Regions from separate parts of the Homo sapiens genome. Here all the other regions are linked to region 5. The links are contacts of gene promoters, found by promoter capture Hi-C in blood cells and fetal thymus (Javierre and others, 2016). All regions are on one chromosome and are shown on one strand. Each heading gives the region's core, a stretch centred on a gene start or on the middle of the fragment in contact. The rest is flanking DNA. Distances are from core to core; before and after follow the strand shown.

The links. Contacts are between HindIII fragments. The CHiCAGO score rates a contact against its expected background, and 5 or more counts as called.
Region 1: a fragment that was not itself captured here is called in contact with the fragment with the promoter of MAST4 in region 5 in 2 of 17 cell types (megakaryocytes and M2 macrophages); the score reaches 5.6 in megakaryocytes.
Region 2: a fragment that was not itself captured here is called in contact with the fragment with the promoter of MAST4 in region 5 in 2 of 17 cell types (naive B cells and total B cells); the score reaches 6.3 in naive B cells.
Region 3: a contact is called between a fragment that was not itself captured here and the fragment with the promoter of MAST4 in region 5, in 2 of 17 cell types (endothelial precursors and M0 macrophages). The highest score is 6.3, in endothelial precursors.
Region 4: a fragment that was not itself captured here is called in contact with the fragment with the promoter of MAST4 in region 5 in 3 of 17 cell types (M2 macrophages, M1 macrophages and M0 macrophages); the score reaches 6.3 in M2 macrophages.

The regions. Positions count from the first base shown.
Region 1 is chr5:66,782,319-66,785,768 of GRCh38, reverse strand. All of the region lies in intron 2 of MAST4 (microtubule associated serine/threonine kinase family member 4), which reads right to left. Among named protein-coding and RNA genes, the nearest start is that of MAST4, 190 kb to the right of the region's middle. The HindIII fragment of the contact is 1,080 bases long and covers 1,399-2,478 here.
Region 2 is chr5:66,374,748-66,378,384 of GRCh38, reverse strand. All of the region lies in intron 1 of LOC105379003 (a long non-coding RNA gene), which reads left to right. Among named protein-coding and RNA genes, the nearest start is that of LINC02229, 140 kb to the left of the region's middle. The HindIII fragment of the contact is 1,567 bases long and covers 758-2,324 here.
Region 3 is chr5:66,347,084-66,350,584 of GRCh38, reverse strand. LOC105379003 (a long non-coding RNA gene) reads left to right here. Exons shown (of 3, transcript XR_948380.3): 2 at 1-1,189; 3 at 2,704-3,154. Among named protein-coding and RNA genes, the nearest start is that of LINC02065, 140 kb to the right of the region's middle. The HindIII fragment of the contact is 978 bases long and covers 843-1,820 here.
Region 4 is chr5:66,760,698-66,764,182 of GRCh38, reverse strand. The region is part of intron 2 of MAST4 (microtubule associated serine/threonine kinase family member 4); the gene reads right to left. Among named protein-coding and RNA genes, the nearest start is that of MAST4, 170 kb to the right of the region's middle. The HindIII fragment of the contact is 925 bases long and covers 1,227-2,151 here.
Region 5 is chr5:66,594,632-66,597,933 of GRCh38, reverse strand. It overlaps MAST4 (microtubule associated serine/threonine kinase family member 4), which reads right to left and starts at 1,541. Exons shown (of 29, transcript NM_001164664.2): 1 at 916-1,541. The coding sequence starts at 1,278. RefSeq lists silencers at 796-945, 956-1,095, 1,706-1,905. The HindIII fragment of the contact is 7,618 bases long and covers 1-3,302 here.

The DNA of each region.
Region 1 (3,450 bases), core at 689-3,188, 190 kb before region 5:
GGCCTGGCACTTAGTAAATGCTCAATAAATGTTTGTTGACTGAAATGCAGGGAAACCATACTATTAGAACAATACTGATCAAGTCTCAAAAGGAAGAAAACCACTGAACAGATAATTTTCTTAAACTTCCTTTTTAAGTATAAAGTAATAGCTAAAATACATTGAGGCCTTATTATATACCAGGTACTGCAACATCCTAACAATCGTATGGGATAGGTATGATTATCTCCAGTCTAAACCCAGAGAGGTACATAACTAGGCAAGAGGATACAGCTACACAAATGGGCAAAAATCAAGATTCTGACTCGAAAGCCCCATCTACCCCAGGAAAATATTCATCACATATGTTTAGGTGAAGAACAAGTTATAAATTAAGACAGAATGATTCTATATTTATACAAAAATCACAAAATAACATATATTATTTATAAAGAGAAAAGCACCTGGAAAGATGGGAGCAGAGTGATTCAAACCACAGGCTTGGCATCAGGCACAAATGGGTCTGCAACCTAGCGTTTTTTGTTTTGTTTTGTTTTTTGAGACAGGGTCTCACTCTGTCACTCAGGCTGGAGTACAATGGCGCAATCTCAGCTCACTGCAACCTCTGCCTCCCAGGTTCAAGCGATTCTCCTGCCTCAGCCTCCCAAGTAGCTGGGATTACAGGCACGCACCACCACGCCCAGCTAATTTTTGTTTTTAGTAGAGACGGGGTTTTACCATGTTGTACAATGGCACAATCTCGGCTCACTGCAACCTCTGCCTCCTGGCCTCAAGTGATCCACCCGCCTAAGCCTCCCAAAGTGTTGGGATTACAGGCATGAGCCGCTATGCTCAATCTGCAACCCAGTTTTTACAGTCACATGCAGTTGAGCAACTTATTTAGTTCCAAGCCCCCAATATTCCCATCTCTAAAAGGGGGATAATACCTTACAAAGTGGCAGATAAGATGAAAGGAGATAATACACTTAGTCACTCCACCTAGGACATGGAAAAGCAGTCAATGTACTGTCACACTTCATATTATCGTAAGACCTGCATCCTCCACCACCACCACAGCAACAGAATAAAACACGGTAACTGGGTTCTTAGGCCGGGTCACACACACACAAAAGAATAATATTGAAAGATATTGAAACAATTAATATTTCTTCTTGTAAGTGATAAACAGCAAATTCAGAATTGTAGTCATCTCTGGCAGAAAAAATGAGGGGTGGGTGCAGGGAGGAGTATGGTAGATCTGTCATATTTTATTATTTTAAAAATTACCAGCAGGGAATAACAGGGTTTGCTACTTCAACTTAGAAGTGTAAATGAAGAATTAAGTTTTTGACTTGTGGCTTTAACAAATTTAATAAGAAATTTTTTAATGTATCCGGAGAATGTAGCAAATATTAAGCTTTGATAAAGCTGGCTGATAGGTATATGGGGTTGTATAGAATTATTCTCTATTAATTTCTGTACATATTTTATAATATTACTTTTAATAATTCCTAGCAAAAAATGTGTTTTGTATTCTTGCATGGCAAACTGGCCAGGAGCACATTCCCTCAACTCCTCAAGATGGTAGTTCCTATGGCCCAGGTCAGGGACCCCAGAGGTCTGGGTGATCGTGGAGGACTCCTACGTCCTAGGTTGAAAAGCAAGGAGCCAGGGGAGAGATTTGATGGGGAATGGGAGCAAAGAGGTACCACAAGGAATCTCAACATCAAAGTCAAGGCAACAGGGACTGGGAAAGGCTCCCTGCCAGTGGGAGGGCAGAACAAAGCAGGCATAACTCCCAGGTAAGGCCTCAGTACAGGAAATTCATAAGCTAGGACCCTGGCTCAATGAGACCAAGCATGGTTCAATAAGAAGTTGGACTCTGAACAGAATCCAGAACCAGCACCCATTGCTGGGGAACACAAAGAAAGGAACACCTGAGCCATGCCCTTTCTCTCCCCACACTCTGAGCCACGCTTTCAATACTGCAGTTTTGTTACGTCTCACAGGATATTGTAAAGCAAGCAGAGACCACTGAGAACAAGCATGCATGCCATCTCATCCTTCTCTGAAATCACTCAATTTAACATGATTATGTACATTTTATTTGTGGCCATCTCGTGAAAGTCCAATCTTGGTAACAAGACCAAAGGTGTGCCCTCAATTCCTTTGTTACCTCAACAGCCTAACGCAAAAGACAAGGCTTTGACATCCAGTAACTGATCTGTCCTTAGCCCATATTCTTATATAACACCTTCTTTAAGCCCAACAGGATAGAGAGATCCTTGCCAGTAATGGTAAAAATTAATTGCTCTAGTTGTGGTTGACTTTAATGTCAGACTGCTGAGTTCCTATTCTAAATTCCCAAACTGATTCCATCACTTATAACATGAACTTCTCCAAACCTCAAGTTCCTGAGTAGAACAGGGCCAAACTTGTAGGGCTGTTGTAAAATCTAAAAATAGAAAATATAGAATGAACACTCAATAAATATAAGCTTAAAAAATAAGAAACACCAAGAGCTACCCAACACACATTAAATTATAAAGTGAGCAGAAATAAAATTTTGTTAAACCACTGGAAAAAATTAGGAAGCACTTACATACATATACAATGAAATGCCTATAATGCAATGATGGGTTAGATTTTAGATGTCGTTATTTGCGTAGGTCTTGTCCTGAGGAATCATATGAATGTTATAAATTGGAGGGTCTGTTAATACAACACATGGGATATTTTATTCCTGCCTAGACCCCCATTAGTGTTAATAGAGAAAAGAGGACAACAGATGGATTTAAGACAGTCATTAGAAGGCACTAACATGATACACAGTTGATAGTGATTACATCAAACTTTATATAAATTCACTTTTTGATGACTATCAAGAGCCTCTAAAAAGTGTGTTGCTGTCGTATTCATGCATCATTTGCTGCCTACAATTTAAGAAAATTAGCATCTGTCAATGGCATTATTCAGCTACACAGGGTGGAAATTAATGGATAATACCATTTCTAATTTGTTGTATGAGAGGTGAGCTTGCCTAGCAATCTGGCTGCTCTATTTTAATACCAAATTGAGCTTGTTGTTACAATTGAAACTGGATTAGCTCTGTGTTCTTTGGAAAAATGTTTCCAAAATTCTACTATGCTTATTGAAACATGTATCAAATGTTTTCTACTGGCATGACTAGAAATTTAGAGGCAATAAATAAAGGTCTGTATTAAAGCTGGAATCAGTTGGACGGATTGATACAAGAGCGTGTCAGGTCTCAACCATAGAGGTGTGGGTTGTTTGAATGGACTTCTTGTACTGGTTATTTTTGCTGTTTTAGCCAAAGGGCCTCTAGTTAACAGAGTTAGAGTGGAAAGTTCTGTAGCCTTGTATGGTTATATGTACATTAAAATAAATACATTATTGAATCTAGACCCAGATCATGCCTTGGTTCTATCAAGGCTATATATGACCTCTCCT
Region 2 (3,637 bases), core at 292-2,791, 220 kb after region 5:
AATGTTAATGAATCAACTATATATTAAATATCTTTAAATAGACATACACCTAAAACAAAGTTATGTACTCATTGATTGACAAAAATATTATGACCAGAGATGCTCAGGAATTCAACACTGTATTTCCCCTTGTTTAGTACCCACTAATTTGGTGTTCATCATGACTTTATAGGACATAATTCCCATGAATAATGAGTATCAGCTATACTTTCATTTATTTTGAGAGCTATCTTCTAAAAAGGACATTAAAATAAAAAAAGCTGTCTTCTTGTCTCCAGATATAATTAGTTGCATACTTCAAAGAAATCAAAACAAAAACAATACTCTCATGTAAATACCCACTTGGTCTTACATAAAACAATCTTTTGTTCTAAGCAAAACATTTTAGGAATGCAATAACTAATTGGTGGAGGGACACATGTTAGTGAGACTCTTAGTCACAGTCAATATTTATTGAATGGCTCCTGAGCTCCTCCTATGAGTAACTCTAGCTAAGGCACATTTTGCAGTAAATGGATAAAAACTCTGAAAGAATAATTAAGATTCCAGAGAGTAAACTAAGATTCATATGTGTTCATGAGTCTTTGAATGAAAATATTGAGCAAGAAAGAAAGGCACAATCATAAAATTATTCATATAATGAAGGCCAAGGGAAAACAGGACTCAACATGAATACAGTCTTTGAGAATGCATCTATTGTATGAGGAGATTCAAATGCATGTTGTCTTGTTAGGGCACAGGGTATCCCCAGAAAGCTTTGAGCCCCAGAGAGGTGATGTTAGATATGTGGAAGAGGACAGGCAGTATCATCTGTAAAAGGTCAGTCGCTACCATCAGCCAGACCAGTGTCTGGGTCCTAGATCCACTTTACTGGCTCAGTGACATGGCAAAAGACACCCTTTGCATGGGCCCCAGTTTCTTCATTTATAAAATGGGAGTAATAAGAGTAATAATACAAATATAAAAAGACATTTTATGAGTGCTGACTAGGCGCCAGGCACTCTGCTGGGAGCTTTTCATGCATTACCTCATTTAATTTTCCCAACTGTCCAGGTGACTGCTATCACTAGCCCCACCTTATACAGGTGAAAAGAAAGTCAGAGAAGTTAAACAATCTTGCCAAGAATTAGGGCTGGCAGAGTCAAAACTTGATCCCAGGTGTCTGACTCTATCTAATCATGTTGTTTGTGAAAGTTAAATGAGATAATGTATATAAAATGCTTAGCACAATGCCAGGAATATAATAAGCACATATTATACATGTAATAAAAGATCCTTATTTATTTATTTATTTATTTATTTTTGAGACAGTCTTGCCCTGTCGCCCAGGCTAGAGTGCAGTGGCGCAATCTCGGCTCACTGCAACCTCCGCCTCCTGGGTTCAAGCAATTCTCCTGCCTCAGCCTCCCAAGTAGCTGGGATTACAGGCACCCGCCACCATGCCCAGCTAATTTTTGTATTTTAGTAGAGACGTTTCACCATGTTGGCCAGGCTGGTCTCGAACTTCTGATCTCAAGTGATCCGCCAGCCTCAGCCTCCCAAACTTCTGGGATTATAGGTGTGAGCCACCGTGCCTAGCCAAAACATCCTTTTAAATAAGAATGTCCAACCATATTTCCATTCTCACAACAACCAACAGATCAACAAGAGTTACCAACGGCTGTGTAGAAGGTTTGTGTGGAGACAATATACTGAATTCTCCTGCAGCTGAAAGCACCACAGGGAAGAGTCCTTTCTACCTCACCAGGAAACGCATTCCAAATAGCCCCCTGGAGAAATTTCTATCTATCCTCATGAATGGATGTAAATTGGGAAATCAGACCCAAGATTTGCTTTTAAAATCTCTCCCGGCTGGGCGCAGTGGCTCATGCCTGTAATCCCAGCACTTTGGATGGCAGAGATGGGCAGATCACCTGAGGTCAGGAGTTCAAGACCAGCCTGGCCAACATGGTGAAACCCCATCTCTACTAAAAATACAAAAAAAATTAGCCAGGCATGGTGGCACGTGCCTGCAATCCCAGCTATTCGGGAGGCTGAGGCAAGAGAATCGCTTGAACCCAGGAGTTGGAAGTTGCAGTGAGCAGAGTTCACGCCACTACACTAAAGCCTGGGTGACAGAGCGGGACTGCATCTAAAAAAAAAAAAAAAAACCTCTCCTGTAGAGGTTAAAACTTCAGATGGCTTATCTCAGCCCTTCTTAAATCTATTTGTTTAATCAATCTGATATCGTTAACTTGTTTTTTGTCCCAGTTTCAGATATAACTATATTGTTTTCATGAAAAACATTTTAGGTACAGAGTGAAGCCAGCTGTATAAGCCAAGCTTCTGACATGCTAAAACAGAACACATTTTGGTATCTAAAGGTTTTCATCCCCTCTTGTAGGAAAGGGAACTAGAGAGAAAACAAAGCTCTCTAGAGTACCATATTTACTTACATAGTCTTCTTTCGCATTTAATACCTGTTTCATCAAGCTATCACAGTCAAGTTTCTCCTAGTCTAGCATTTTAAGCTTGGACGAGCGTAGTTATGAGCAGGGATTACTGATTGTCCTTTTATCTTCTGCAAACAAGAGGACGGCTGGCCCTCACTAGGCCTCCAGGGGTTCCTGGCAACTCCAGCCACTCATGAGGTGGAAGAATACACGGAAAAAGTTAAAACAAATGAAGATATTTCCTCCTCAACATTTGGAAACCTTCTGCTGGCCGAGAATGCCTGAACTTGAACAGTAAGCCCTGAGAGTGAGTCCAAAAGAACACCCTGTGGCATTAACAAGACTGGACAGATAACATGTATGCTAATACGGAACAATTGCTAGCATACACTGTTAAGTGAGAAAACTCAACCATATATATACAGTACTACTATTTGAACATCTATAGAGTTGTACATCTATAGACTCTTTGTCCAGAAGAATACACACAAAACTAGCAAGAGTGGTTACCTCAGGGGAAGGGGCTAAGTGTAGGGGTAGACTTGTTTTTCAACCTATATCATTTGGTACTTTTGAATTTTTATTATAAAGAAGGTTTAAGCAATCAGTTGTAAGTTGGAAGCTGCATTGAGAGCAGCAATGACCTCCTATCTGGATAATCTGCTCTCCCCAACTGCGGAAGATCAGAAAACTGGGGTGAGATGTGTCCTCAGGGTAGAGAAAGAGAAATCTAAAAAGAGTTCTGATAAGACATTTCCCAGGTTAACATCCATGGCTTTCCCTGATCACATCCTCCTGTAAAGACTTGTCCTCTTCACATATTAGCACAAAGGATGCAAAATGTAAAGAGAGTACCTAAAAAGTAACAAACAAACCTACCCCAAAAAAGCAGTTTAAAAAAAAAAAAACCTATTCCAAAAAAGAATCATTTCAGAAAAGATAAGGAAATTGTATATTCTTTTACTCTATTTATAAAGAAACAGAACTTAGGTTCTTTGGAGAAAGTAAAGAAAAAAACCATAGAATCAAAGATTATAGGATGAAAGAATAAAAAGAAATTTTAAAATGAACTGAAGAAGTATTGGAAGAAATTTAAAATAATACCAACATAGGAATAGAAATCAGTCACATTAGAGGTAGCAAGAAGAAAATATAATACTGAAAACAGGAATATGGAGGTATAGCTCAAGAAATTCATACAAAAT
Region 3 (3,501 bases), core at 82-2,581, 250 kb after region 5:
TAATACTGAGTAATATGACAAGACATATTTAAACCACACAAGCCATATGCAGACAAGTGTTTAATATCATAGTGATAGTTTCAAGAGAGAGATAATAATTTATTCTACATTTATCAGAGGTCTATAGCCCAGTAGTCAATAAATACTTATCTATAGTCAATAAGTACTATCAAGCATCCATGCCAGGAACCATGCTAGGGGCTGATTAATTTACATCAATCACCATGACTTTTTTCCCACAAACTAACACACACACAATCTTCATAGATTTTTCTGTGATCACAGCAAGGAAAAGACCTACGCATGTTTGGATCATCTGTGTACAGTCCTACAGAAGAACTTTGACACTATCAGAGACAGAAATCTCAGAATAGTCCAACTCTCACTTATTTGTGCTAATGAAAGAGTAAAGTAAAAGAGACAATTAAAATGGGAAATGTGTTTTGTTTTGTTTTGGTGTTTTGTTTTACAAGTATGCAAAAACCTCAAATCAACCTGACCCAACAATAAGGAAGCAAGTCAGAAAAAGGCAGTCTTCCAGAGCTGTTTGTTCAGCAGCTCAGTAATGCCATGAAGGTTTGCTTCCTTTCTCTGCTTTGTGTTTCTGGAGAGAGTCCGCATACATTTCAATATGGCTGACAGCAGTTCTGGAATGTATAAAGCCTTGCATAAAGAAAATGACAGTTCACTATGAAAATCTGATTCGGATGATGTTGAAAATAGATTTAGTGTCTGCTCTGCCTCTCTGTTTTCTAGGACTTCACCACCTCACAGACTTTGTACACTCATGGTTCACAACTTCCTCACTGTGTTTTCTTTAACGAGTAGAAGATAAATAAGCTTTAAGAAATAGTAAATTATATCAAAATAGACTTTATCATATAATTTGCCTAATTATGTACCTTCAGTAAGTGTTTATTGAACTCTGGGGTGTCAACAATTTTTTATTCAGCTCTCATAAGTAATATTTGCTTAGAAATCTACCCATAAATAGGATAACAACTTTCATAAAACAAGAATTTATACCTAGCTAACATGAAAAAGCTAAACATCCCTTGAAGTACAATTCTCCTGAAAATCATCCCAATATGGTTTATTGAGGCTGATGGATTTGGACACCAGCTCTTAAGAAAAAAGATAAAGAGGAAAGCTACTGCCTGCCACAACATATTCTTTTTCCCAAGAGCTGGTAAGTTTCTTCCATATGTGGAATCCAATAACGTTCGGAACATTCTTTTCTCTTTCTGGTAATGTGATATACCCAACGTGGGCCTATGATACAAGGAAGGAGAGTAGATCAGGAGTCAAAAACCACAGGTCCTAGTTCTGGTTCTATCATTTCTTTGCTGTGAAAGTCTGGACCAGTGACTTCATAGCTCTGAGTTTCTGTTGTGTCATTCTTCAAGTCAGGTCATCATTTGCCTTCCCTACTTCACAGGTAGTATACAGTAATCTTTTCAAAAGCCCTTTAGAGGACATAACACAACCTTATGTTTATTTTCTGCTAGAGCATGACTCCCTTGAGGGCTTGGAGCATGTCTTAATCAAATTTGTATATTCCACCATTCCTACCCCAGACCTATTATTAGGTGCTCAATAAATGTTGATTTTAAATGACAGCTGTCATGAAATAAATGAAAACAGAAGCCAACAGTGACGGTTTGAGCTGCCTGCTGGCTGGCATGTGACACTTAACATCTAAAGAGTGATAGTGGCAGCTAAAGTGCGGAAGGAATCCACTTTATGAAACTATCTGAGCAGTGAAGCACTGGAAATCACAGAGTCTCCTTTTGGCTATTTTACATTTAGATATGAAAGCTTGTCAGGCTGGGCTGAGAATAGACAATGAGAAACTAACACATTTCAACAGGTTTTGAATAGTTTCCCAGTGAAGAATTTTCCTGGCCTCTCTCCACCCTGGTTTTTATCCCTCTTCTTGGGAGTTATTTTTCGCAAATGTACCCCATGATTGGCAAATTTCAGAAGAATAACTGGGGTTGGCTCAGTTCAGCTCCTCCCCGTCCTTCTCCTGAGTCTGCTTCCAAAGGCAATCTGCAAGGGAGGAATAAAGCAACTCAGGGAAGGGAAAAAGAGATGTGAAGAAGGAAAGAAATTGGAAGACCCAAAACAACATGATGGTTAGTAGAGCTAATGAAAATGAGGAAGCTCCAATAATATCTGGTTTTTTTTCTCTGACTTTGTGAAAACCATTTGTTATTATGATACGACAATGTAATCAATGGTACTCAGTAAAGTCAGTACCCCAAAATTCGGCCAGGTGTCATGGCTTTTTGTGTATGGTTGTCCTGGGAATTAAAGGAGAAGGAAGGGGCTGTGCCCCTGTAGGGGAGATGATGTGCAGAAACGGACGGTATACACAGGAGGAAAGACAATGAGAAAAGATAAAGAAAGAATTCACTAAAAGCAGGGACTTGGAGCTAGAGAAGCAACAAAAGACATCCATAATTCTTGGAGATATTAGGGGAATACTAGGCTTCCCAAGAAAAAGATTCAAGCCATTCTATTGCACTGTCAGCTGGAAGGTGGTCCCAAAAGGCTGGGGAAATTGGAGGCACTCAGGAAGCTGCTGTCTTGGTTACAGGCATTCATGTATGGATGAGGCTGGAGAAGGTAAAAGACAGAGGAAGAGAGTAGGGAGGCAGGTACAGAAAAGAGACTCATTATTACCTTTCTCTATTGCAGGCTTCAGAAGGTGAACCCAGAGAGCAGGCTGTTTCTGTCCATGGGAAAGCAGGATGGTACAGCCCATATCTGATTCAGAAACCAACAGTCAAACCATTCTCCCCTGAGACTAAAGCAGAGAATGAAGCCATTTCCCAGAAATTTGGGTATTTAAAAAATCACCCTGGCCTGGGTTACAGGGTAATTGTCCCATATCTATGTTTCACCTGCAGATTCATGGGACAGAATTATTTCCCAAATCTAGCTCCATGCTCCTGCCCTGACTTAAGTCAGGGAATACTTGGTATGTAGTAGCATTTATTATTTCACGTTCAAAATATCTCAAAGCCTTGAAAACTGTAACGTATTAAACGGAAATTTGGTAGGCATTGCTTCGCACAATCCCATGATGCCAGCTTGCTAGCATGGATATGCCCAGGGCACCCTACCAGATGCTGGACACAAAAGCTCAACATGGTAGTTCTTCCCTGCAAGGGTTCACAGCCCAGTGGAGGAGATCGTCAGGTGAGTAAATCATCCTACTGTACAGCCACGATGTGCAGAGGACTCAGAGGAGGGAGTGAAACTGCCACTCCCAGGCCCATGTCTCAGACCAACCCTTCCCCTCCAGCCAGTTGTGTAGACTGCACCTCTTCTCTCCCTCCTCAGTGAATACAGGCTAAGGAACGCAGGCTTCTCTTACCCAGGTTCCCTGAACTGCTTTTTTTAGCCCATCTCATCTTCTTCTGGTTTTGTTCAATTTTCTGCCAGCTTTTTTATCCGGCTCACTTATCTCCCTTTATCCCTCAGAACCATCTC
Region 4 (3,485 bases), core at 440-2,939, 170 kb before region 5:
GAGTGACCTACAGCCAAACCCCAACTAACCTATAGCCATCTGAACAAGAAAAAAATACTTCTTGTTGTCTACCATTGAGATGTTTGCAGTTATGCAACATTACTGTTGCTGACTGATACACCACCAAATGCCACAGAAAAACTCGGGTTCAAAAACTATCTCGTGGATTAAGCTGCAGTGTACAAAAAAGGCCATAGCATCCTTCACTTGCCCATTTTTAAAGGAAGCCTACTCAACCATCACTCCAATTTGAGAAAATTCCTTAGCAGAAAGTAATTGTTTTCCTCCTCCTCAGTAAAGACAGATGCTCCTCATCTTACAGTGGGGTTACATCCAGATAAACCCATCAGAAGTAAAAAATATCTTAAGTCAATAATGCATTTCATACCCCACTAAACTCATCATAAAGTTGAAAAGTCAAAAGCCAAACCATAGTAAGTGGGGGACCGTCTGTATACAATTATTTAATTACAAATACAGTAAGTCTTAGGTAGTATGAGACACTATGAGACCATTTAACAATGGGATTTCACATTAATATATTGTGAGTCTCTTTCAATATTAAAACATATTTTTTATAATATGACCTTTAATGTTTACAATTGTTTTCCATTTTATGTGCGTACCATAATATGTTTAAGCAGTATTCATTTGCCAGCTATTTAGATAATATGAAATTTTAATTATTATAAATGGTACTGCTTTATATATAACTAAGGTTAATTCTCTTGACATATGACTGTTTCCTTGTGATGAATTCTGAGAAGTCAAATTTCTGGGTCGACCAATGTGTGAATTTTAAGGTTTTAAATATGTACTAATTGCCTAGTTTTACTTTATTTTTACAATTAAACGACTGGGAGCCCTACAGATTGAGCCAACCACAAATTTTAACTGAGTGAACAATTTTCCCACCTAAGATTCACTCCAGTTAATACTGCTGGAATTAAGAGTTTATTTAAAACCTACTAGGTACTGACTATGCTAGGAACAGTGTAGCAGTTGTGAGCATGAACTCTGGAGCCATGATGCCTGGGTTCAAATCCTCGCCTTCTGTTGTGAGGACTGTGACCTCAAGGAAGTTACTCAACCTGCTTGTGCCTCAGTGTTCTCATGTGTAAAATGAGCTAACAGTGTCTCCCTCATAGACACACACAGATGTTATAAGGATTAAATAAGCCAGTAAATATAATTCCCTAAACACAATGCCTGCTACACAGTAAGCTTTTAATATTAGCTATCATTATAAGGGATAAATATATAAATTGATCACAGATCTTCCTTTCAAAAAGCTAAAAGTTTAGTGAACCTTATCAAGGATAATTGGTTGGCAAAACTGTCCAACCATAAACTAAAAATCTTTGTTTTAAGGAAAGCAGAATGCTGCCAAAGAAAAGATCCTTGGATTAAAACAAAGTAAAACAATGAGAAGGTGGTCAGTTGTTAAGTAACAGATTAGATCAGGCATGGGCCTCTGATGGAAAAACCAGTAAGACTTATTTTAAGTTTAGCAACAGGGTATGTCCCAAGATGAGATCACATGTGATTATTTGGTTACCTAAAACTAGTGGAAAACACATTTTTTAAAGATCAGGGAAGATGCTGTCTTCTCTGTGCTCCAACATCTGACACTAGCCTGACATGAACACAGTGCCTAACACCAAGTAGCAAGCCAGTCGATAAGGGTACCAAACTCATTTCCATGAGCCCATGCCACCCATCAACTCCAAATCCCCCCAAATTCAATTAGTTATGCACATAATACTAACAGCTGCCTGGGCTAGCTGCTTTGTGTATATTATTTCATTAAATCTTCAGCTAAACCATACAGAGGAACAATTAAAAATGTTTTTTTCATATTCTAATATAATTTTCAAGGAACTGTCTTCAAAAACAGGCTGACGTTCGATGGATTTTTTTTTTAGCTCTTCTAAGGACTATTAAACATTTAAAAAAATTATCTGACCAAAGACTTAGTTACCAAAAGTAATTGTGTAGCGAACTAATTGTCTAAGGATTGACTTGCTAGAGCTGTTAAAATTATGACAAGAGAATCAAGTCCGGCTATTTATTTTCAAAGCTAAAGGCCAAATTTCATGTTTGAGATCATATATCTGATCAACAGCCATACCCTTGCATTATTTTAAAGCTTTATGTAAACTGCTTTAGCAAAAATGGATAGAATAATTACTGCCCCTCCTATCTATCAAAAATAGTTGAATCAAGGTAAGTAAATTTCCTAAGTGAAATTAATAAATAAAAGGATGAGTCTTTTAACCTTTAAGATTTAATTTTCTTACCTACAAGAGAATAATCTTTGGGATCTCCTACTTTAAAAAGCAAATAGTCTGCATTTATGAAATGAAAGCAAAGAAAAATATCCTAACAAGCATTAGAAGAGCATCAGTAAACTCAAGGGAAAAGATTTGCCTTAAACTGCAGCAGTTTTTTTGATGAATTTCTCCCCCTTGGCCTGAGGTAGTTTGGCCTTTTGTTCCAGCAGAGTGGCACACAGGGTCAGATGTCCCAGACTCCACTAATCATGTGGCAGTAGCACTTCTGTTCCCAGAAATTTCATCTTCAAAACGTCAAAATCCATAGTTCTCCAAAAAAAAAAAAAATGAGTAATTCAACTTACTTTCCAGGCCATTTTTAAACTGGTAGACAAGACCATCATGTAGAAAGAAAACTCTGTTTGGGGATTTTAAGAAACAAAGTTCCGTGAAAATATTTATATCTAGAGGAAAAAGTACTCTGATGAAATAACAGAAATCCAGCTTTCAGTGGTATATAGTTAATAACATACAATTTTAAGTGGTGAGTTACCTTTTAAAAGCTAGGCTTTAACTTATCTTAATTTGGGTATTTTGCAGTCAAAAATAATTTGTGAGTTTTCTGGATTTGAAAATTTCTCAATTTTAACAATGAAATTTAAAAAGGGGTGAAAGAATTGAACCAATACTTCACGAGACACAAATAATTGTCCAATAAGCACTTGAAAAGGTGTTCTAGATTATCTAGTCACCAAGGAAACATAAATGAAACCCACAATGTGATACATCTATGTAACACTGAAAATGGCTAAAATTTTTAAAACTGGCAATACCACAGGTTAGCAAGAACGCACAGCAATTGGATCGTTCATCCATACCTGTCAGGAATGTAAAATGGCACAATTTTAGAAAACCGTTTAGCAGTTTCTTTTCTAATTTTATTTTTATTAACAAAGAATAATTTATACATATTCATGAGGTACTAGTGATGTTCCAATCATATAATGTATAGCGATCAGATCAGGGTAGTTAGCATATTCATCATATCTCAAACATTTATCATTTCTTTGTGTTGGGAACATTCAATATCATTCCTCTAGCTATTTGAAATTATATATATTTGTTAATTACAGTTATCCTACAGTAGTATAGAACACTAGAACCTAATTTTATAAAGTTAAACATACGCTACTAACACACGCAACAACATGG
Region 5 (3,302 bases), core at 292-2,791:
AGAAACGTCCAAAGCAAACAATCTTTTTTTTTTTTAAACTGAGTCTGGCTCTGAGACGTGAAGAATTGTACACTTCTTTAACTGTCCTCCAAAAGCAGAAAATAAGCCGGACAGAGCAGCCAGAAGGACACCAGAGTCCTATGCTCAGTGTGTCAGGAAGCGACCCACAAGTTCTGGAGGAACATCCTTCCAGGAAACTGGGCAGATACAGATCCCCCACCCCGCTCCGCCCCGCAAAAGGTAAGACGATCTGTACTCGGTTTGGTGACAAGCGTTCATCTGGACAAGCTGGAAACAAGTCTGAACGGGAGCTGCAGGCGCGCACGCCAGCGCCACCGAGGGAGCGCGGGGAGTCCTCTTCTCCCAGAGGACCGACGCTGCGGGGACGCGCCAAAACCACCCGCGGGCGATCCCAGGGGGCTGGCGCCACTGAAACCTCCGCAGGCAACTCCGCGGCTACCGCTGCCCCCCACCCTACTCCTGCCTCTTACCCCCAAGGCACCATTTCTCCCCCTCAACTCCCTGCCCCTCGGCCCAAGCGCTTCGGTGGGAAACAACGCCCACTTTGGAGAATCAGAGGTGAGTTGTGGGGACACGCCAGATGTCCAGATCGCATCCTTTCACAGATCAACCAAGTCAGATACAAACACGAAGGAGTTTGCTTCTCTGACATTTTAAAAACACACCATCAGGCAGCACACTGAGACACACACACGGGGGTAACAGCCACAGGGAAGTCAATAACCCACAGGGGGGCTCCTAACTATCGTTGTCCCGTGCTCGGGGCAGAGCGCTTGGGGTCCCTCCCTATCTCCAGGCCACAGCGCTCTCCTGCCCACTGCCTGTGCGCAGGATGGGAAACTACGGTCGCCCGGCTGCCGGAACCCAGAGTGGGCAAGCTGGGGAAAGGCCCACCTCCTCGTCCTGCTCCTCCTGGGACGCGCTGCTGCCCCGGGGCGCGGGCGGCACAGCTCCTCCGGGAAGCGGCGGCGGCAGCGCAAGGACTCCGCGCTCCAGCAGCACGCTTGCCGGAGCCCACGCGGCGGGCGCCCGGGCGCCCAGGGTGCCTCCCAACGGCGGCGGCGGCGGCGGCTGATGCTCTCTGGAGAAGCCGCCGGGCTCCCCTTCCTCCGACAGAGTTTCTGAGCCCGAGGAGGACTCGGCCGAGGAAGCACCCGGAGAGGACGCGGCGACCAGCGCAGAGGCTGGAGTCCGGCTGCCGTGGCCACTGCAGCCGCGGGGCACCGGCTCTGGCGCCTCCGAAACTTTCTCCCCCATTTCCCTGTCTGGCCCAAAGTGCCTCCCGAGCGGCGGGGGCGCGGCGCGCACTCAGCGCCTCCCGGGGAAGACGCGGGCTCCTGGGCTCAGGCTCACTGGCACTGCCGCTCCCGGGCTGCAGGGAGCCCCGCCAGCGACTACATGGCAGTGACGGGGCCGCAGGAGCCCGCTGCTAAGTTCACAGCCGCCCGGGCCCGGCCGCAAACGGAGGCTCCCGCGCGCGGGGACATGCCCGCTCGGGTCCGCGATCTGCGCTCCACTGTGCTCCCGCGCTGCACCCGAGCCGCGGGTACTGCGGCTTCTCCTTGCAAAACCTGCCTCCGGGACGGAGCAAGGAGACGGGCAGCCCGCAGAGCCAATGGCAGGGCAGGCGCGCTGGTGGGCGGAGGCTGCGACGCCTCCGGCCATGAGGGCCTCAGGTAGGGGAGGCGGGGCCCGGGCGCGGGCCGTGGTCCCGCTGGAGCGCCTGGGCGCAGGGGACAGGGACCAGGCGGGGGTCCCCGGAGGGTGGGGGCGGAGCCCAGAATCGGAGCCAAGGGCTGAGACTCCGAACTTAGCGGGGGAGTGGCTGACCGTCCTTGGGACGTCAGAGGGAGACGGCGAGCGGATGGTGAGACCTTGGAGAAGAACTGGACTTTGTCTCCAAAAAGTGGAATCAAGAAAACGGACAAGAAGGAGGGCTCTATAGGGAAAAAAGGAACCACACACACACAGTCACCCACGCACACGGACTCACCAGCGTGTTGGAGGAAAAGGACAGAAACTTCGTGGTATAGTGAGCGGACCCAAAGGGGAGTGACCTCTAATCTCTGCTTTTCCGTTTAAGCTCTTTGGGCCTCAGTTTCCTCAACTGTAAATGGCTACATTACTACTGGTCTTGGCAGGCTTAGAGCAAATATATATAATGCATCAGCAAAGTGCCTGGCTTGGATACACGGAGCGTTTTTAAAAGACTATTTCCTGTCTTTATTTCTGTTTGTAAACTAAAAAGTTAAGTCTGAGACTTGAACCTTTTGATAGGGAGGAAGATAAAAAAGTATGTCCTTGTATTTAATTAGGACCAAGCTCTGTAGTCCTACTCAAATTGTCTGTCTCGGTATGATCAGCTAAGCAGAGGATGAAAAGGATTCACTTTCCAATGTACATTCTCCTAGCCCTGGGTTGTAAACCAACAGGATACAGGACAGGTTGCTTCATTTTCCTTACCTCTAAGAACTAGGAGAAAGAACTTTCACTAAAGGTACCAATAGAGTACCCTTAAGTCCTTCCCTGGGGCTGGAGGATGCTGCCTGTCCGGTGACTGGAATTTCCTTGGAAGCCAGCACTCAGCTCAGCAGTGGGAAATAAATGATTCCTCTCTTGCCTTCAGCTCTAGTCCCATTCTGAGCTCTGGCACAGTGACCTGGGATGTAAATTCAACCGCCTCAGTTCCATGTACGTTGATGGAGATGTGTGCCAGGTGCAGGGGATACAAAGATTAATAAGTCAGGTCCCCTGCCCTTGAGCAGCTTATGGTCAAGCGAGAGATTGATACTGCATAATATAGCTCCCTTATCCATTTTAGAAGCTGTGATAAGTGATACAGGAAAAATGTGTGAGGGAGAAGAGGAAAGAGTTACAGAAAAACAGTAGCAGGTCCTTGAGCATCTTAGATTTCTCTTTGTCAGAGCAGCCTTGCCAAAGGTCCTTAAAAACTGGAGGACCCTAATTGAAAGCCCCTTCAGCTAATGAGCCTTTCATGCTATCATGGTATTTACAAGTGATACATCACACAGAGGGCTTCATCATATTGGACAGCAACCTTTGTCCTGATCAGTTTCCTCCCCTCAAGATGAAGGGGAAGGAAATACGTTTTGTCTATCTTGCTTCAGACAGCCATACTGCAAAATGGACTCCGGTTGTCAGGCTTTCATTGTGACGCTTCTGAATTATTCACAGGGATATGAAGACCTGCTGAGGCAAAAGGTCAAGTCTAGTGGCAGCTAAGTTGTGAGAGCAAGGCTAAAGAGAGAGCACAGTGGGGC